Linked DNA regions of Homo sapiens: regions 2, 3, 4 and 5 are each linked to region 1. Evidence: promoter capture Hi-C in human tissues and cell types (Jung and others, 2019). All regions are on one chromosome and are shown on one strand. Each heading gives the region's core, a stretch centred on a gene start or on the middle of the fragment in contact. The rest is flanking DNA. Distances are from core to core; before and after follow the strand shown. Region 1 holds the start of MAP3K6 (mitogen-activated protein kinase kinase kinase 6). Region 2 has its middle 8.1 kb from the start of KDF1. Region 3 overlaps FAM76A (family with sequence similarity 76 member A). Region 4 has its middle 14 kb from the start of IFI6. Region 5 has its middle 69 kb from the start of SLC9A1.

The links. Contacts are between HindIII fragments. The study calls those that stand out against the background at their distance.
Region 2: a fragment that was not itself captured here is called in contact with the fragment with the promoter of MAP3K6 in region 1 in 1 of the 25 tissues and cell types used here (neural progenitor cells).
Region 3: a contact is called between a fragment that was not itself captured here and the fragment with the promoter of MAP3K6 in region 1, in 2 of the 25 tissues and cell types used here (dorsolateral prefrontal cortex and mesenchymal stem cells).
Region 4: a fragment that was not itself captured here is called in contact with the fragment with the promoter of MAP3K6 in region 1 in 1 of the 25 tissues and cell types used here (liver).
Region 5: a fragment that was not itself captured here is called in contact with the fragment with the promoter of MAP3K6 in region 1 in 1 of the 25 tissues and cell types used here (lymphoblastoid cells).

What each region holds. Positions count from the first base shown.
Region 1 is chr1:27,364,930-27,368,919 of GRCh38, forward strand. MAP3K6 (mitogen-activated protein kinase kinase kinase 6) reads right to left here and starts at 2,032. Exons shown (of 29, transcript NM_004672.5): 1 at 1,329-2,032. The coding sequence starts at 1,668. RefSeq lists silencers at 621-690, 1,281-1,330, 1,401-1,620, 1,651-1,760 and enhancers at 1,013-1,956, 1,957-2,898. The HindIII fragment of the contact is 34,431 bases long and covers 1-3,990 here.
Region 2 is chr1:26,966,619-26,970,608 of GRCh38, forward strand. No RefSeq gene overlaps it. Among named protein-coding and RNA genes, the nearest start is that of KDF1, 8.1 kb to the left of the region's middle. RefSeq lists a silencer at 113-813. The HindIII fragment of the contact is 6,129 bases long and covers 1-3,990 here.
Region 3 is chr1:27,760,384-27,764,373 of GRCh38, forward strand. It overlaps FAM76A (family with sequence similarity 76 member A), which reads left to right. Exons shown (of 9, transcript NM_152660.3): 9 at 112-2,733. The coding sequence ends at 198. Among named protein-coding and RNA genes, the nearest start is that of STX12, 11 kb to the right of the region's middle. The HindIII fragment of the contact is 6,157 bases long and covers 1-3,990 here.
Region 4 is chr1:27,684,302-27,688,291 of GRCh38, forward strand. It overlaps the pseudogene CHMP1AP1. Among named protein-coding and RNA genes, the nearest start is that of IFI6, 14 kb to the left of the region's middle. The HindIII fragment of the contact is 4,176 bases long and covers 70-3,990 here.
Region 5 is chr1:27,083,812-27,087,801 of GRCh38, forward strand. No RefSeq gene overlaps it. Among named protein-coding and RNA genes, the nearest start is that of SLC9A1, 69 kb to the right of the region's middle. The HindIII fragment of the contact is 7,329 bases long and covers 1-3,990 here.

The DNA.
Region 1 (3,990 bases), core at 782-3,281:
GTGGCGCTGATCCCTGAAGCCCAGCTTGATGGGGAAGGAGCCGGGGTCCATCCTGGCTTGACCTGCCTTGCTGTGGGACTCCAGTAGGGTCTGGTTCTGCTTTGGGCTTCAGTCGGCCCTTTTTAGGGTTCCCCTGGCACTTTCACAGAACTGATCTCTGTAGTGTTGCAGGAGAGGAGTTGGGCTCACTGGGTTGGGACCCTCAGGCCACGGTTCAGAGCCTGTGAGCACCTGGCATGGGGGAAGGGAGGCTGTGGACCAGTTGAGTCTGTTACGGGCCATTTAGGAGGTGGGAGTTGCGCAAACATAGAAGTCCCCTCCCTTTGGTCTTCAGCACAGGCTCTTGAAAGGGGCTACCATCAGTGTGCATAGACAACGCTGTGCCTAAATGTATGTATGTGTATATCTGTGACATGTATAGCTTACTATGTCTGACTGTATCTGTGTGTGTGACAGCGTCTGCTAGGGCCTGCATGAGTCAACATGTATGCGATTTGTGTCTGTCGATAATTGTATCTTTGTGTCCGAGTGGTCGGGTCAGCCTTCATTTTAGGCTACGATTTCATGGACATCCAGGAAGCACAGCTACTGGACTCTAGCATAAGCAAGTAAGTATGGGGGCCGAGCATCCGGGCTGGCTGGAGGGAGGAGTGACTCGCGGGGGAATAGCCTCCTTCTGGCCCCGCCCCTGAGCCATCCTTTCCCGCCCACTTCCCCGCCCCTTCCCCGCCCATTCTTTCTGGGCCGCTGAGGCCACTTAACCTAAGCTCCCTCACCCAGTATCCAGTCCCGTCGGGCCCCTTCGCTTCTCTTTTTGCCTCTCCTAGCCCGATCCTTGGAAATAGTATGCTAGGACTCCTGAACTCCAGCCTCCCGGCCCCTTTCCCTAAGTCCAAGCTCCTCTCCCAGTAATTGTCCTCAAGAGATCCGCGTGACATTCTCCTGAGGGTGAGGCTGAGTTCTCCAACCCCACCCCTGAGACACCACAGCCCCGCGCCGCTCCCCGCCCCGCCCCAGAGTTCCAAAGCCCCTCCCCATCCTTGCCCCGCTGGCTGGGCACCGCTCCGACTGAAGGGTGCCTAAGCCCCAACCTCGAGCCCTAGAGCCGCGCCCGGATCCCTGTCTCGTCCCGAGCCCGGCCGCGCCCCAGATCCCCTAAATCCCACTTTTTTCACGGCCCTGTCCCAAGCCCTTCAGCTTTAGCTCACTTTAAGTCCCCTAGACCCGGTACCCCTCTCGGCCCCTCCCTTGAGCCTTCGAGCCCGGCTTGGTCCCCTCCCAGGACCCTGAGTCCCGCCCGGATCCGGCCCCGCCCCCAGCGCTCTCACCCGCGTTGTAGAAGGCATCCAGAGCCGCGGTGTCGCCTAGCTCCAGCGTCCCGAAGGGCAGGCTGCGCAGCTGCGGGGGCGGCCGCGGCCGGGGGACCTGCGCGCAAGCCTCGCGCAGGCAGCGCAGGGGCAGCGGCTCCGCCTCGGTTCCCTCCCGAGGCTCGAGCCCGGGCTGCGGCTCCCGGGTCAGCACGTAGACCACGCTGAGCGGCCGGCTCCGCGCGCAGCCCCGGCCCGGGGGCGCCGCGAGCTGCCGGCCCCGGCTCAGCGCCACGGCCAGCGGGTCCTGCCAGCAGCTGCCGGCGCGCTCCGCCCCGGACCGGGGACACGGCCCCGCCATGCGGGGGCGCTCAGGCGCGGGGCGCCGCGCACTGGGAACCGGGGGCGGGGCAGGAGCCTGGGCCGGCAGATCAGGAATCTTGGGATCTGGAATCCGTTCGGAATCGGAGAATCTCCCACGGGATCTAGGGATCCGGAATACGGCCTGACGTCCCGTTCCAGGAATCTAAAGTCCAGGGAGAAATCCTAGCTCGGACTTGCAAGGTCCTGAGGTTCTGAAATCCGGGATTGGGTCCCAGGAATCTGGGGCATCCGGTGATCGGCAGCTCAGAGCCACTTGGGGGATCCTGGGAATCGGCTCGGAGGTGCCCGCCACCTGGACTTCTCAAGGGAGCGCCCGCCAACGCTGCCCTGCCTTCACTTGTAGGCTAAGCCCAGCCCTTTCCCGGCCGACCCAGAAAGCTCCACCCTCGGCCCTGGGGCAGAGCCGCTCCCTAGCGGCTTGAGACTCAGCCTCTCCCCTCCCTTCTCTCCCGCCAGAACTTTGGAGACTGGCGGCTTCCGGAACAGCCTGTGCCCCTGTGCACGCCAAAGACTGTGGACTGCTCACAGCAAGTGCACATAAAATGTGTGAGGAGGCCAGGGCTAGGGAAAAGGTTCGATATGCAGGCCCTGCTCTGCAGGTATCTGTTGAATGAATGGCTCTCTAGAGACATCAGGGTGCGCAGAGCATGATGAACAATGGGTGTCCTCCCGGGCCCAGTGAGCGCAGGCAGGGAGGGACTGGGATGGGGGAAACCTACACCCTAGGCCGCTTGCCCGAAAGCCTTCAGTCCTGGAGTGGGACTTGGCATCTGAGCCTTAACTGTCACTAGGGGGCTGCTTTCCCCAGGACCCAACCTGCTGTGGACCCCCGCTGACCTTTGACTTCTAGGCAGAACGTGGCCATGGGACCTGAGAAGCACTTCCTACTCTAAACAACTCTAAACATTTCTTTAGCCACCCCTTGAAGGAGTCAACCCCAGCCCTTTGCACTACAGCAGCTTCTCAGCTTCAAATCCCCAAGAGTCCCCAACTTTCTTGTGTGAATTAATGAGTGAGGCAGCAACCTGGTAGAAGCCTCAGTGGACCCTGAAACCAAGAACTGGGGACTTAAGTTGAATAACTTGTCCAGGATCACTCAGCACATGACAGCAGGGTGCAAACCCAGGACCGCCTGTCAGACTCTTAACTATTTAATTCTGCCACTTACTAGAATGTGGCTTTGGGCAAATAAACTGCTTAAATGCTACTCAATGGCTGTTTCATTGCCCTGTTGCCTTGTGGAAGAAAAAGGTACCTTCCTTGGTTTGACCTTGGATTCGAACTGACACCCAATGAGATAGGCAGGAAGTGGTAGAGTTTGAGAACTTGGCCTGCAACAGAGGCTGGAGTGGAAAACAGACAACTTACAAAGGACAGGCATGGGCAACCGACAGGCTGAGAAAGCTGTGCAATTCCCAGCCAGGGCGGTGGCTCATGCCTGTAATCCCACTTTGGGAGGCCAAGATGAGTGGATCACGAGGTCAGGAGTTCGAGACCAGCCTGGCCAACATGGTGAAACCCCGTCTCTACTAAAAATACAAAAAAAAGTAGCTGGGTGTGGTGGCACCTGCCTGTGATCCCAGCTACTTGGGAGCTGAGGCAGGAGAATCACTTGAACCTGGGAGATGGAGGTTGCGGTGAGTGGAGATCGTGCCATTGCACTCCAGCCTGGGCGGGGCGACAGAGCAAGACTCCATCTCAAAAAAAAAAAAAGCTATGCAATTGTGCAATTCCTGCCACAAAGCCATCCACTTGCAGGACCCAGAGGGCCTCGGGAAATTGTCAATGGATGCTTGGATCTCCTCTAATCCTTCCACTGTATGCCCCTCTGGCTCATTGCACTCCAGCCTGGGCAGGGCGACAGAGCAAGACTCCATCTCAAAAAAAAAAAAAAAAAAAAAGCGGCCGGGCGCAGTGGCTCACACCTGTAATCCCAGCACTTTGGGAGGCCGAGGAGGGCAGATCATGAGGTCAGGAGATTGAGACCATCCTGGCTAACATGATGAAACCCCGTCTCTACTAAAAATACAAAAAATTCGCCGGGCGTGGTAACGGGTGCCTGTAGTTCCAGCTACTCGGGAGGCTGAGGCAGGAGAATGGCGTGAACCTGGGAGGCAGAGCTTGCAGTGAGCCAGGATGGTGCCACTGCACTCCAGCCTGGGCGACAGAGCGAGACTGCGTCTCAAAAACAAACAAACAAACAAACAAACAAAAAAGCTGTGCAATTGTGCAATTCCTGCCACAAAGCCATCCACTTGCAGGACCCAGAGAGCCTCAGGAAATTGTCAATGGATGCTTG
Region 2 (3,990 bases), core at 580-3,079, 400 kb before region 1:
GGGGCCATTGTCCCAATCCCCTGCTTTCCCCATGGTTGCTCCACTCTGTTCAATTTTTACTTTTCTGATCACCCTCCTCAGCCACCATTTAGGCTCCCAGGCTGGTGGTGACAGCTTGGTGGGAGGAGGGAAGTATCAAGGATGACGCTGGGCTTCTGGCTGTGTTACTGGATGAATGGAGATGACTGGGGAGGACCAGTTTGGGGTGTAAGAATGCAAACGTAGTGTTAGACCTATTGAATTTGATGGTCTGTAAGATAGCCCAGACATATCACCATTGTATCCATGGATGCCATTTTGGAGTGCTGTTTAGGAGCTGCAACACGTACAGCGCTGGGGCTGTGGAGGAGCCGTGGGTCAGGGGAATGTAGGCAGTGGTGTGTGGAGCCGGCTTCAGTGGACCTGCTTCCCTTCCTTCCCTGGGTATCTGCTGCTTGCCTCTGGTGTGCTTCTCCCATAAGGGCACTAGGGGACAGCACACAACAGTGGAAATTGCCAGAACTTCAGGGTCACAGGTTCTGACTTGGAATACTAGATGCTCAGCTGTGGTGTGAACTTAGCCTCTTTGGACCTCAGCATTTCCTTTTTTTTTTTTTTTCTTTTTTGAAACGGAGTCTCGCTCTGTTGCCCAGGCTGGAGTGCAATGGTGCGATCTTGGCTCACTGCAACCTCTGCCTCCTGGCTTCAAGCGATTCTCCTGCCTCAGCCTCTGGAGTAGCTGGGATTACAGGCACAGGCCACCACGTGCAGCTAATTTTTGTATTTTTAGTAGAGATGGGGTTTCACCATGTGACCGGGCTGGTCTCGAATTCCTGACCTCAGGTGATCCACCCACCTCGGCCTCCTAAAGTGCTGGGATTATAGGCGTGAGCCACCACGCCTGGCCTGGACCTCAGCATTTCTCATCCAAAAATGGTTTTAACATGAGGTAAGATAACACAGTGGTTTAGAGTGTGAGTTCTGGAGCCATAGGATCTGAACTCGTGCCCCAGCTCATACACGTACTTGCTGTGTGTTCCTTTGGCCAAGTTATTGAACTCCTCTGTGCCTCAGACACCTCATCTGTAAAGTGTGGGTGATAGCTTCATGTGGTGATTACAACCGAGACCAGCACATGGTAAGTGCTAAACAGATGTTAGCTATTTTATATTAACCCCCTTCCTCACCTCCACACCCCACCCTCTGGCTCCCTGCCCCGCCATTCTGGGGCTGGGACTCTCAAAGGCAAGACCACTGCCTCTGAGAATAAGCTGAGCAAATTACTGGTATTGACCACGACTGCCTACAACATGTTAGGTTTATTATGTGCCTTATTCCATTTAATCCCCATAATAAGGCCAGCAGGGTGGCTCACACCTGCAATCCCAGCACTTTGAGTGGCCAAGACAGGAGGATCGTTTGAGCTCAGGAGTTCAGACCAGGCTGGGAAACAGCAAGACCTTGTCTCTGCCAAAAAAAAGGAAAGAAAAGAAATTAGCCAGTATGGTGATGCACGCCCGTGGTCCCAGCTACTCAGGAGGCTGAGGCAGGAGGATCACTTGAGCCTAGGAGGTCAAGGTTGCAGTGAGCAGTGATCATGCCATTGCACTCCAGCCTGGGTGACAGAGCAAGACCCTGTCCCCCAAGCGAAAAAAAAAATCCTCACAATAACTCAGTAAACAGATCTCAAACTCCTGTTTTACAGCTAAGAAAACAGAGGCTCAGAGATTTAAACCACTTGCCCAGGGTCACATAGCTAGTAAGTGGCAGAGCCTAGAGCTGAGCCCAAGTTCATTCTGGTTCAGAGCCTGAGCTCTTTGCAGTGGCTCCTCTGGGCCCCCCAGAAACTGGGTCCTTAGAGGCCGGCTGCGTTGGCTCACACCTGTAATCCTAGCACTTTGGGAGGCCGAGGTGGGCGGATCACCTGAGGTCATGAGTTCGAGACCAGCCTAACCAACATGGAGAAACTCCATCTCTACTACAAATACAAAATTAGCTGGGCATGGTGGCTCATGCCTGTAATCCCAGCTACTTGGGAGGCTGAGGCAGGAGAATCGCTTGAACCCGGGAGGTGGAGGTTGCAGTGAGCCGAGATCACACCATTGCACTCCAGCCTGGGCAACAAGAGCGAGACTCCATCTCAAAAAACAAAACAAAACAAACAAAAAAAACTGTTACGCTTGTGGGGTGGGGGTGGCGGTGAAGGGGGTGAGGGGCAAGCGAACAGGGCTCTGTACTGTGTGAGAGCTGTGGAGAGAGGTGCAGGGGAAGCCCCCTGGAACTCCAGGCTGCACTGTTAGACGGGAGCCCCCAGGGATTCCTGGGGTTCTCTGTCTTGTGCCAGTGCTGCACCCCATTGGCTGGGCCTAGAGGGAGCTGCAGGCTGAGGAACCCTATCTTGTGCCAGGTTGAGGCAGGATCTGCTGGTTGGTTCCAAGTCCCTAGTAAAAGTATTTTCCAGAGTCCTTGTGCCAAAAGAAGCTTCACCCAACCCCCTCAATTTGCCAATGAGAAAATGAGGTGCGAGAGGGGAACGAGCTTAGTTGAGGTCACATAGTGAGTAAGGGGTGGGCCTTGGTGAATATGGACCTCTGCTTCCTCACTTGCCTCTGTGTGGTGTCAGGTTAAACCTGGGTTCAGATCCTGCCTTTACTGCTTGGTGCTTTGTGAGCCTGGACAAGTGACTCAGACTCTCTGGGCTTTAGTTTCTACATCAGTGAAATGCATTTATTCATTCAGCCCTTCTCTTGGCTGCACCCTCATCCCCCACCATACTACTCCCTCACTGTTACACACACACACACACACACACACACACACACACACACACACACACACACACAGAGGAAAGGCTACACATGGCCAAGCTGAGGCTCCTGGTCACTCAGAGAGAGCACTGCAGCTCTGGCCACTGAACACCACCCCCTACGTTCTGCCCACCCCAGCCAATGTCACTTCCAAGAGCCAATGCCTCTTGGAAGCCTTCCTAGAGAGCCCCCAGCTAGAAGGCTGTCCCCTATGCTAAGTCAAGGCCATCTGGGTCCCTAAGTGATCTTGACCTCCCCTGCTGCTTTTCCTGCCTTCAGACTGAAGCTCCCAGTGGGCAAGGTCTGTTCTGATTCATCCCTGAGTCCCCAGCACCCAGCCAGGGCAGAGCCCAAAGGCTCTGGCTGGGAGTGTTTATGGAGGGGGTAAGTGAAGGAGGCCCCTCCAATTCTTCCCCTTTCTCAGGAGCCCATGACCACCAGCTTTGCCTCCCAAACCATCGATGTGGGAGAAAGTGCCCTGGAGAGAGGGTCAAACAGACCTGGGATGGAATCCTGGTCCAGCCTTTTCCTAACTGTGTGAACTTGGGAAATGACCTCACTTTTCCGAGCCTCAGTTTCCTCTTCTATAGATAGCATTCCTGAGGAGGAGACATTTAAGCTGAGAATGGAAAGACCTAGATGGAAAGACCGAGAGGAAGAGTGTTCCAGGCAGGGTGAACAGCTGGTGCAAAGGCCCTGAGGTTGGGATAAGCTCAGCATGTTAGAGGAACAGGAAGGAAGCCAGTGTTGTCCGAGTGCAGTGAGCAAGGGGGAGAGGGACTTCTTTTAATCTTTTTTTTTGAGACGGAGTCTCATGCTGTCACCCAGGCTGGAGTGCAGTGGTGCGATCTCGGCTCACTGCAACCTCCACCTCCTGGGTTCAAGTGATTCTCTTGCCTCAGCCTCCTGAGTAGCTGGAATTACAGGTGTGCACCGCCATGCCTGGGTAATTTTTGTATTTGTAGTAGAGTAGGAGTTCATCATGTTGGTCAGGCTAGTCCCGAACTCTTGACCTCGTGATCTGCCCGCCTTGGCCTCCCAAAGTGCTGGGATTACAGGTGTGAGCCACCATGCCTGCCCGGGACTTCTTTTAATCTAAGGGATATGGGAACTGACTGGAGGGTGTTGAGCCAGGGAGTGGCCCTGGTTGCTGTATGGTGATTGCAGGAAGGCAATGCTTACGCGGGGAGTCCAGGTGAGAGAT
Region 3 (3,990 bases), core at 314-2,813, 390 kb after region 1:
TCTTTCTGACCCTCCACATTGTCTGCCTTAGCATCTGCACTTACTCTGCATGAAAAATAGCTTATATCCTGTTTGAAACATCCTTCTTGCACTGATTTTTTTTTTCTTTAGGCCAAAAACCGAGAGCTCCTGAAGCAGGCAGCTGCTTTGTCCAAGAGCAAGAAGTCAGAGAAGTCAGGAGCTATAACCTCTCCATGACAGACCTCAAGGAGGCTCCCTAGCAACAGCAAATGGAGTTGTCCAGGGTTAGGGTTGGAGACCTGGCTGTTCTGTGGGAATTGCAAGCTTTCTTAAGAAATCTCTATTTTATTACAGTTATCCTTCTTTGTGCGATTGCAGTGGGCTGAATGGAAACACCTGGTTTGTGCTGTGTTAGACTGCATGCTTGAGTGTTTGGGATTTCAAGCTCGCTCTCTTTCTCTCACTATTAGGACTTTTCTTTTTCTTCTTCCTCTTCTCTCTATTTTGGTTCTATTCTTTTTTTTTCTTTTTTCTTTTTTTTTTTTTTTTTTTTTTTGTGGTGGTCACTGCTCAGTGTAATGTGCAGAATGATTTGTTTTTTGTTTTTTTTTTTTTTTTTGGTCCTTCATTGCATCCTGCCATACCCATGAGCAAACAGTTTGGCATTAATTATATATCACTGCCACCCTCTGAACTTTGAAAACTGCCATCTTCAGACTTGGTATAATGGAAGAGGCTTTCTCTCTCCAATAAACCTTTTGCTTCAGGGTATACTCTTCGGTTTTTTTCCAGATGTATTATGTATGAACTTTGTACTATGTATAGCCAGAGTTTTATTTATTTTTTAAAAAAGAAACTTTTTCTTGATAAAGGAATAATGGTGGTCTAGCTAGTTCTTGTAAAAGTGATGCCTCTTGAAAAAAAAACAGTCCTATTCACTAGCTTTTAGTAAAAGAATCAGATCTTTTCTTTCTTGTTACCTTGGAGTCTTAAAAACTGATTGCTAAGGTGAAACAATTCAATGCATAAGTATGGAGCTAAGTGCCTTTTGGAGGATTTCTTGGAAGAGCATTTATGGAGATACTTAAGGGAGGTAGCAAAGATTTGAACCGTCTGTCTTTTTAAGTAAGGGCAGAAAGCAAGGTTGTCCAGGTTGTACTGGACACTTCTCTCCCCACCCCTTTCCTGATTGTTTTATGTGATTGATTTTAAATTCTCACACTGCCACTTCTTTAAAAAATAAAATCCTTTATTTGCTTATATCAGTTGTCATACTGGGCTGCTGTCAGAGAATGTTTTTTTACATGAATGAACAGATTAAAAATGGAATAATATGGTCGGGTGCGGTGGCTCACGCCTGTAATACCAGCAATTTGGGAGGCCAAGGCGGGTGGATCATTTGAGGTTAGGAGTTTGAGACCATCCTGGCCAACATGGTAAAACCCCATCTGTACTAAAAAAATACAAAAATTAGCCGGGCCTGGTGGCATGCACCTGTAATCCCAGCTACCCAGGAGGCTGAGGCAGGAGAACTGCTCGAATCCCGGGAGGCAGAGGTTGCAATGAGCTGAAATCGCAACACTGCACTGCAGCCTGGGCAATGGAGTGAGACTCCGTCTCAAAAAAAAAAAAAAAAGGAATAATATTTGAACTACAGAGCATTTTTGGGGTCAGCATGAGCTGCTCTAGTAAGGACTCTTGAGTCTGGGAAAAGTGGTATCACTATACCTTCTCCCCACTCCTCACCCACCCGAGCCCATACACTCCCTGCTTTTCATGGATATGTATTGAAAACAGGTGCTTCTCAGAAGCACTTTGCCTCAACCAGAGTTATGTATGCCCTGCCTATCTTCCCTTCTTAACCCTGTAGGAATATGGATTTACTTTTCCAGGAAAGGGGATAGATTTACATTTCTAGGCATACTCTCAGGTCCTCTATGTGATGTTTGTGAAAGGAATTAGGGTGTGTCATGTGTGCCATGAAACAACAAAACCAACTACCCTAGAATCATTTATGCAGGGGGTACTAGAGTTAGAAATAATAATGAGGGCAGATAACATTTGTACCTCAGTCTACCAAAAAATTATAGTACTAAATTTAACTTCTAGGCGTTTCCTGGAAGCAGATGCTCTATAATTTGTGATAGCATTCTCATAAATGGAGTCCTACACATAATTGGACAGAGATGTGGAAATGGTGGTTTCCTTCTGATAAGGGATACAGTGGACCATGTCGCTTATATATCACCCTACTAGGGGATATAATTTTCCCTTCTAAGCAAGGGAAATGGCAGTGCTAAATAGTTTTGTAAAGTTTTTGAATGAGAAGCTTTTAGGTAAAGATAAACTGTCATAATATTTTTCAGATGCATTTGCATTGACTATGGGAGAAAAATTAGGGGGAAATGACAGTCATGGTGTTTTTTTTTAATTTTAAGGACTGAAATTCTGTTACATGATGTATGACAATATAAAAACATACTTAGTTTTATACTAAATCTTTTTTTAAGGTCTTGGCATTTAATATAAAGCAAATTCACACGTTTTCTAACTTTCCATAAGTTCCAAAAAGGGAAAGAAGAAACCTCAGTCTTGAAATTTTGATTTTTAAAAATCATGACACTGTTTTACCATGAAATTGAGTAGCTAACTTTTGGTAACACCTTTTGTTTCTTTGTATGTTTGTAATAATGGACATTTTAAAACACAGGAATGTTTTGGTTTGTACAGACTTTGACAAATGTGTGTTAATAAAAATTCATATTGACTCAAGTGTAATTGTTGGATTTTGTTTTTATTTCTTGCTGTTTACCAGTAGACATACCCCGTTATCCCCTTCAGCCCTTCAGCCTAGAAAAGTTTGTCTTGCTTATAGACTTAAAAAATTAAAAGCCTAACTGCTAATTGGGAATTTCCTGTCCATTAGAGAATAAACTCTTTCTTTCTCTCTTCTATGACTGTTTTGAGACAGAGTCTCACTCAGTCATCCAGGCTGGAGTACAGTGGCAAGTAGATCACTGCAGCCCCGACTTCCTGGGGATTCTCCCACCTCAGCCTCCCAAGTAGCTGGGACTACAGATGCACGCCACCATACCCAGCTAATTTTTGTATTTTTTGTGAAGATAGGGTTTTGCCATCCAGGCTGGTCTCCAACTCCTGGACTCAAGCCATCCACCCACCTCATCAGCCTCCCAAAGTGCTAGGATTACAGGCATGAGCTACCACACCCAGCCTCTTGGTGATTCTGTTTACCCAGTGTAAGTGCTCATGTTGTGATAGGCACTGTGCTAGGCAGCGCGGTTACAGCAGTGACAAAACCAAGTTATTGTACTTATGGGGCTTCCATTTAGTGGAATATTGGACACCACCACACCACCATTGTTCCTTGATTTAAAAAAAACTTTTTTTTTTTTTAATGGAGTCATGCTCTGTCACCCAGGCTGGAGTGCAGTGGCATGATCTCGGCTCACTGCAACCTCTGCCTTCTGGGATCAAGTGATTCTCCAGCCTCAGCCTCCCAAGTAGCTGGAACTACAGGTGGCGCACCAACACATTCAGCTAATTTTTTTGTATTTTTAGTAGAGACGGGATTTCACCATGGTGGCCAGGCTGGTGTCGAACTCCTGACCTCAGGTAATACGCCCGCCTCAGCCTCCCAAAGTGCTGGGATTACAGGTGTGAGCCACTGTGCCTGGCCAAAAAAAATTTTTTGAGACAGTCTCTGTCACTTAGGCCAGAGTACAGTGGTGCGATCTCAGCTCACTGCCCCTTTGACCTCCCAGGCTCAATTGATCCTTCCACCTCAGCCTTCCAAGTAGTTTGGACTACAGGCATGTACCACCATTCCTGGCTAATTTTGTTTATTTTTTGTAGAGATGAGGTTTCAGTATGTTGCCCAGACTGGTCTTGAACTCCTGGACTCAAGTGATCCTCTCGCCTTGGCCTCCCAAAGAGCTGGGATTACCCAAGTGTGAGCCACCTCACTCAGCCAAATGTTCCTTGATTTTTATTATTATTATTCAAAATATA
Region 4 (3,990 bases), core at 908-3,407, 320 kb after region 1:
TCTTGGGCAATAAGTGTTTAGGTCCTTAGCCAGAGGCCAGGCCAGGAGACTCTGGCCTCTCTGTCAATCTTCCCTTGATTAACCAGTCTGACCATCACCCCAGGCAATTCCAGGTAGGGTTTCTTATTGTAAATCTTTACCTTCCTGCTTTTAAAATTCCACCAAACTGGAGGAAATAGAGCAAACTGGTTTGGGGCCTTTAATGTTGAAGACCATCAGAGACTCTCTTTGGTCCACCCAACCTTCAATAGTGTTGTATTAAGACATTTATTTTGGCCACGCGCAGTGGCTCATGACTGTAATCCCAGCACTTTGGGAGGCCGAGGCTGGCAGATCACCTGAAGTCAGGAGTTCAAGACTACCCTGGCCAACATGCCAAAACCCCATCTCTACTAAAAATACAAAAATTAGCCAGGCGTGGTGGCAGGTCCCTGTAATCCCAGTTACTTGGGAAGCTGAGGCAGGAGAATTGCTTGAACCCAGGAGGCAGAGGTTACAGTGAGCTGAGATCATGCCACTGCACTCCAGCCTGGGTGACAGAGCGAGACTCTGTCTCAAAAAAAAAAAAAAAAAAAAAAAAAAGACATTTGTTTTCACTGCATTAATTTCCTTTTTTAAAACCTCATTAATTTTTATTTTACTCATCCTATTTCTTAATAACCATCTAAGGATTTCCATCCTGCTCAGACGAGTCTCATGACTCTCCCCTTTCTTTTTCCTCTTAGTTTCACCCTTATCAGTGTTCTCTTCTTTCTCTCCCTCCCTCTCTCTCCTTTCTTCTTTCCTTCTCCTTCCTTCCTTCCTTCCTTCCTTCCTTTGCTTCCTTGCTTGCTGGGGGACCTGTTTATTTACAGCAGCATTTTAGGAAAAGGGCAAACATGGCTCTCTCCTTCAACAAATCCCTGCTTTGGTGCCCAAGGAGACAGGGCTGAGGTAGCCCCTGCCTGGCCCTTGGCTCTGTGGAGCCCTGCACCCTTGGGAGGACAAGGTAGCTCCCCAAAGCTGTTAATTCCAAAGCTGTTATTTGCAAGGGATAGAGGGACCTTGTTTCAACACCCAGCATGTGGGTCAATTTCTGGGGAGGCTGGAGAGGACCATGGCCAGATGGTGCCTTGACCTCCGCATGTCCAGACCCACCAATGGGATCTCCTCCCAGGGGCTCTGAAATCCTGAAAAGAAAACCAAACGCACTGAGTGAGGGTCTTATGCTTCCCTTCATAAGAGCCATGACACCGCGGCAGCCCTGGTGCAGAGGAGGGGCTGGGACTCACCCTCCCCGCCTGCCACCTGTCCTTTCTACTTTGGCAAACAACAACAAAACCCTGGAAGCTTCAAGAAAATGAAGTAAACTTTAGGGAACAGAAAAAACAAAACAGCAGGCTGTGCCCAAAGCCCTCTCTCTGCCGTCCCCCTCTCCGAGTCCTCCTGATGAGCTGCAGCTGGTGGTGCCCGCGTGGCCACAGCACAGGTTTTCCTCACAGAGCCACTGGCCCAGCTGAAGGTGACTCTCCTAAGCTCCCTTCACCAGCCACTCTGGCTTCCACGCTGGGAAGGTAGGATGGGGTGCAGTCGGGGGAGGCACCCAGTTATTTAGAGAGACAGAAGAGATTGGCACACAGGCAGCATCACCGAGGAGGCCCCACGCACATGCTCAATTCTGGCCAGTGCATGGACAGACCCCCTGCTGAGGGGACACAACAGCACAGCCCATGTAGCCCAAGGCACCTCCAGAGGTGGCAGATGAGCAAGGATGAGGACCCCAGGGTGGAAACTCCTGGATTTGGAGCTGGGCAAGTTTCTGTCCCCATGGACTGGGCAGCTTTAAGAACCAGGGGAGCTGAGGGCAGGAGGCCCAGGGAGGCTCAGCCAGCTGTCAGGAGCAGCCCAGACCCCACCCCTAGAATGACAGAGGAGGAAGAGGGGGAGGGTCATCATCTGTAAATGCCACCAAGACAGTGTTGGGTGGCACCTGACGTTCCCCAGCACACACGAGCCACTGGTGCCTCTTCAGGCTGTGTCCGTTCACATGGTGGGACCTCCTGCCCATTGGTGGTAGGGGCAGGGTGCGTGGAGAGGCCTTCTCCAGGAGCTGCCTGGAAAACAGGGCAGCCCTGACCCCCACTGGCTGACAGTGAGCAGCATGTCTCCTATCACGGAGTCTGAAGGTCCCCGCAGTGTTGAGCAAAAGTTTACATGGCACCCACTGGCCAGACCCCATCGACTCCACAGAGAGCAAAAGAGAGCCTGCTGACCTCCCAGCTGTTGGCCCCAGAGTCACAGAAGTCACCCCTACTCAACACCAGGACACAGATCCACCGCCCAACCTAAGAAAACAGGAACAACTCCAGGGCCACCTAGGCCAGGCAGGTGAGAGGAGCTGGGCGACAGTAGCTGCCAGCTGCAGCTCTGCAGGATCAACAAAAAGGCAAGATGCCGGGGGGAGGGGAGGAGGCCAGGAGCCTTGCGGCACATCACAGAGCAGAGGCGGTGCCCACGGCAGGGTGCGGCTAATTCCTCAGGGCGGCTAACGCCCTTGACAGCTGTTCCTCCTGGCTTCACACGGAGCTCTCGCCCGGCAGAGGCACCCTTGGGCAACTGGCTGAGCTGGTCTAGGACCTCCAGGCCATTCTCCTTGGCGCTCTGCACAATGGGTCTGTCCACCTGCTCCTGAGGCATGGTCAGTGTGGCGGCCGAGCTCATGGAATCCTCCATCACTAATGTGTGCATGGCCAGGTTTTGCACTTGCTACTCAAACCTGTCCATCGCTGCAGAGGCCTTCTGCAGGTCCGTGGTGTTCAGGCCTTGTCTGGGGCTTTGGTCACCTACACCATGTTCTTGGTTACCACCTTCATGGTCACAGCTGTCTGCACCTCGGGGGCCACTGTGTCCAGGCGGATGCCATGTAGAGCCAGTTCACGCTGCTGTTCTCCTTGCAGATGGTGTTCTTGGTGTACACACGGGTGCACTCTACATTTTTCTGCTGAAGGGACTTCTTCACTTTGGCCTGGTTGGCGTAGGAGTGCTTTTCTGCCTTCTTGTCTGGTTTCTCCAGCTGCTTCACCATAAATTTCAACTGGAACAGGGTATTGTCCCCTGGCCAGTCTGACAGAAGCACCCCTTGGAAAGGCAGAAGGGACATGAACTCCGGGAGGCATCAGGTGCCAGTGGCTCTTGCCTTATTTCTTAATAACCATTTAAAAATGTTTGCCTTCGTGGGAGAAATCCTTTGATTCTCCCCTCTCCCATTACCTATTCTCTTGTTAGTTGCCTTAATGTTTTCATTACCATCCGTAAGACCCAGGAGGGGAAGCTGAGGTAGCAAATTTGATAAGGCTTCTCTGACTATAGCTCAGTTTTGCAGTAGTAAGGTTACATGAGGTGCCCATGCAAAAGAGGCTGCCTGAACCACAGCATTTATCATGACCCGGGTAATAGGCATTGTCATGCAGGACTCCTGTTGACTCCAATAGGGATGGCACTGTGTCCTAGAGGCCGGAACCAGTGAATGAGACTTAGGGTTTACTGAGGGGAACTTACACACAGGGATGGTCCAGTGGTGGTGGGCTGGACAGGAGCATGCATTTATGAAACAGGGCATGCGTTTTATGAAACGCATGCAGTTGATACAGCATTTTCACTTAGCACCTTCCACCTAGCAACCTCTACCCAGCAACCTCCAGTTAATCCACAAAAAGGGACTCCATCCCCTGTATGGCCTGTGTTCCAAGGAATGAGCCAGGGGCTCAGATGTCCTTCATAGATAAGGAGTGAAACTCTGGGTTGGCCACTCCCGGATTCCTTAGCTCAGGACTCCGAACACACATTCTTCTTAGACCCTAGGATCATTCTCAGGGTACGCTTCAGTTAAGTTATGGCTGTCAGCTGCATCTGCCATATACAGGCATCCTTAGCGGGTGAATGCCTGGTCATTGTAAAGCCAGCTCCACATGGCTTGCATATGAAACCTATCAACTGCTTCATCTGGGGTGT
Region 5 (3,990 bases), core at 838-3,337, 280 kb before region 1:
TTTACCAGAAACTGTACTCCCTAAAGCTTATGTACTGAGATGTCAATTGGCAAACTAGTTATAATAGGTAAAATGTTATAATAGGCAAATGTGTTCAAAACAGGGGAATTATTAAATAAATTTACAAGATAACATATTGCAATTATCATGCTCATTTGCTAAAATACCCTTTATGGCAAAGACTGCTTGGTGTCCACCAAAATCTATTCTCTCTTTCTTTTGTATAAACAGTAGAGTTACTTAGCTGCCCACCTAGAGACTACAGTTCCCAGCCTCCCTGCAGCTGGGTGGGGCTATGTCATAAGTTATTGGCAATGGATGTGAGCAGAATTGATGTGTGTCACCTCCAACTACAGGCTTTAGAATTTAGGTGCCTTCTCCTTCATGCTCATTTCCTTCCCGTGGTTTAAACACGGACCATGGTTTGACCATGAAAATTAGGAGGACACCTTAGGGGATGTCAGAGGAGCAATGAGATGGAAGGAACCTGGCATTGAATGACAGCAGGGCACACAGTGGCCCCAACAACCTGGACCACTTATCTCAGGATCGTTACATGAGAAAAAAACACTTATGTGAAGCTGCTGTATTTGGGGACAGCTTTGTGACAGCACCTTAGCCTCATCCCCAACTAACAGAGACCCATTTAATAATGCTCCCGTCCAGGGATATGTCCAGTACATTAATCCTAGTTCTCAACTTCCTCCAGTCTTAACCTCTCTTTGGGTCTCTTCTAGGGTCTATGGTTTATCATTATCACTATCTCTTTGCCAATACCTGGAACTCCATAACCCCTCTTTGACTTCATCTTATTTGCCTGGCAAAACCCATCTGTCTTGGTGCCTGCACTCAAGTATCTGAAGATCACTGACAAATTCGTACAGCTGAGCTGAGCAGTGCCACTGTTCTCAAACATCAAAGGGACTCGACACGGAAAACTCTACTGTTTTTCTAACACGAACAGTTTCTTTCTTCTCCTCTTTCTCAAGGTAACTATTTCACTTCTTTTCCTCTTTCTTCAAATTTCCTATTTCCCTTTCTAGATTCATTCTCATTTGATTTGGTAACCTTGCCTGACTATTTATTGAGAGAATTAATGCCTTCAGTCACACAGACACCTTTTCATCTTTCCTCCACAAAATCTGCAAACCCATCTGCTTCTTCCTACTTTGGAGATGTTGTCCCTACTTCTCTCAAGGGTGTCTTTTTTTTCTCTCTCTTCTTTCTTCTTTTCTTCTTCTCCTCCTTCTTCTTCCCCTTCTTCTCTTTCTTCTCCTTCTTTTCCTCCTTCTCCTTCTTTTTAAGACAGGGTCTCGCTCTGTCACCAAGACTGGAGTGCAGTGGTGCAATCATGCCTCAATCTCCTGGGCGAAGCGACCCTCCCACCTCAGCCTCCTGACTAGCTGGGGCCACAGGCATGGGCCACCACCCATGCCTGGCTATGTTTTTTTGTCTTTTGTTTTTTGTAGAGACACAGTGTCTCTATGTTGCCCAGGCTTGTCTTGAACTCCTGGACTCAAGAGCTCCTCCTGCTTCAGCCTCCCAAAGTGCTGGGATTACAGATGTGAGCCACTGTGCCTGGCCTCAGAATGTCTTGATTCTGAATCTCTACCTCTTTTACTTTATCAAAGTGTTTCCTTCTCTACTGGGTCATTTCCCACCACTTTAAAAACATTTCTAATATCCACTCTCCACCCCCAACACACACACAAACAAAACAAAAGTAAACTAATGGCTGTATTAGTTTTCTATTGCTGTGTAATACATTACCACAAACTTAGTGGCTTAAAAGAACACACATTTGCCAGGCGTGGTGGCTCATGCCTGTAATCTCAGTACTTTGGGAGGCTGAGGTGGGTAGATCACCTGAGGTCAGGAGTTTGAGACCACCCTGGTCAACATGGCGAAACCGTCTCTACTAAAAATACAAAAATTAGCCAGGTGTGGTGGCGCGCACCTGTAATCCCAGCTACTTGGGAGGCTGAGGCAGGAGAATCTCTTGAACCCAGGAGGTGGAAGTTGCAGTAAGCCGAGATTGTGCCATTGCACTCCAGCCTGGGTGACAGAACGAGACTCCGTCAAAAACAAACAAACAAACAAACAAACAAACAAAAAACACATTTATTGTGTCACAGTTTCTGTGGGTCAGAAGCCCAGCATGTTTTGAGTCCTCTGCTTAGCATCTTACCAGGCTGAAATCAAGGAACTAGCCCAGACTGTGACCCCAGCTGGGGCTCAGGGTCATCTTCCAAGCTTATTGGTTGTTGCAGAATTCAGTTTCCTGCAATTGGAGGACTGAGGTTTCTACTTTCTTGCTGGCTGCCAACAGGGGCCATTCGTAGCTCCTAGAGGCCACCAGTTGCTCACTGACATGTGACCCCCTTCACAAGAGGACAGTTTGCTCCTTCAAGGCCAGCAGTAAAGCGCTCTGTAAAAGGCTCACCTGATTAGGTCAGGCCCACCAAGATGAGTTTCTTCTGATTAATTCAAAGTCAACTGATTAGGGGCCTTAATTATATTTGCAATATTCACCTTTGCTATATAATGTAACCTAATCACAGCAATATCCCACCATACAGGTTCTGCCTGTATACCGTCAAGGGGAGGGGATTATACATGTCTTGTACAACAAAAGGCAGGAATCTTGGAGGCCATCTTACAATTCTGCCAACCACAACACACACCATACCACACACACATCACACACCACATACACCTCACACACCACCCCCACACACCACAAAGATCACACACACCACACCACACACACACCACATACCACACAGCCCACACACTGCACCACACATACACACCACACACATACCACATACCCCACATACCACACACACAGACACCACACACACCACATCCATACACCACACCACACACACTACACACCACACATCCCACATACCACACACACCACACACTACACACATACACACACCCCACACACCCCATACACACCCTGCACACCACACACATCACACACAGAGACACCGCCTATCCCACACACACCACACACCCCACATATCACACCACACACACCACATCCACACACACCACACACACACACAGCATACACAACACCCATAGACACCACACACCACACACACACCTCACGTACCAAACACCACACACACAACCACACACCACACACCAAACACACACCCCACACATACCTCACACCACAGACACACACCACCCCCCGCCACACAACACACACACACACACACACACACACACACACACACACACACACACAGCAGGTGCTCTGGACCTATCTGTCAAATTGCATGGGGCAGCTGAGCCTCAGTTTTCTTTGAGAGTCTCACTCTTGTCACCCAGACTGGAGTGCAGTGGCACGACCTTGGCTCACCGCAACCTCCGCCTCCTGGGTTCAAGCAATTCTCCTGCCTCAGCCTCTTGAGTAGGTGGGATTACAGGCATGCGCCCCAGCTAATTTTTGTATTTTTAGTAAAGACAGGTTTCACCATGTTGGCCAAGCTGGTCTCAAACTCCTGACCTCAAGTGATCTGCCTGCCTCGGCCTCCCAAAGTGCTGGGATTACAGGTGTGAGTCACTGCACCCAGCCCAGTTTTCTTATCTGTAAAATGGGTGTTGGGTCATATGTTCCTCCTGCCAGTCCAGGTGCCCTCTTCACCTTTCTCCATTCTGCGCTGGGCCTAGAGGCTGACCTCTCCCCAGGCTCCAGCTCTCACCAGATTCCAGGACCTTCCCTGCTCCCCGGCTGGTAAGAGCTTCCTGCTGCTGCAGACCCTTCAGGCTTCACCAGCCTTTCTTGGTTCCTTTAACTCTGCCCAGCACTTTGTAAGAGTCCCTTCATCAAACCCACAATACCCCTTTGAATGTGCCATCTGTTTCCACCCAGGGCCCTGATTGCTGCAATAATTGGTACCAGAATAGCTCTGGGAGACAGATCCTTGGAAGGGATTCTGGGGTTGGGTTGCTCATGCTTCTTGATTAGTG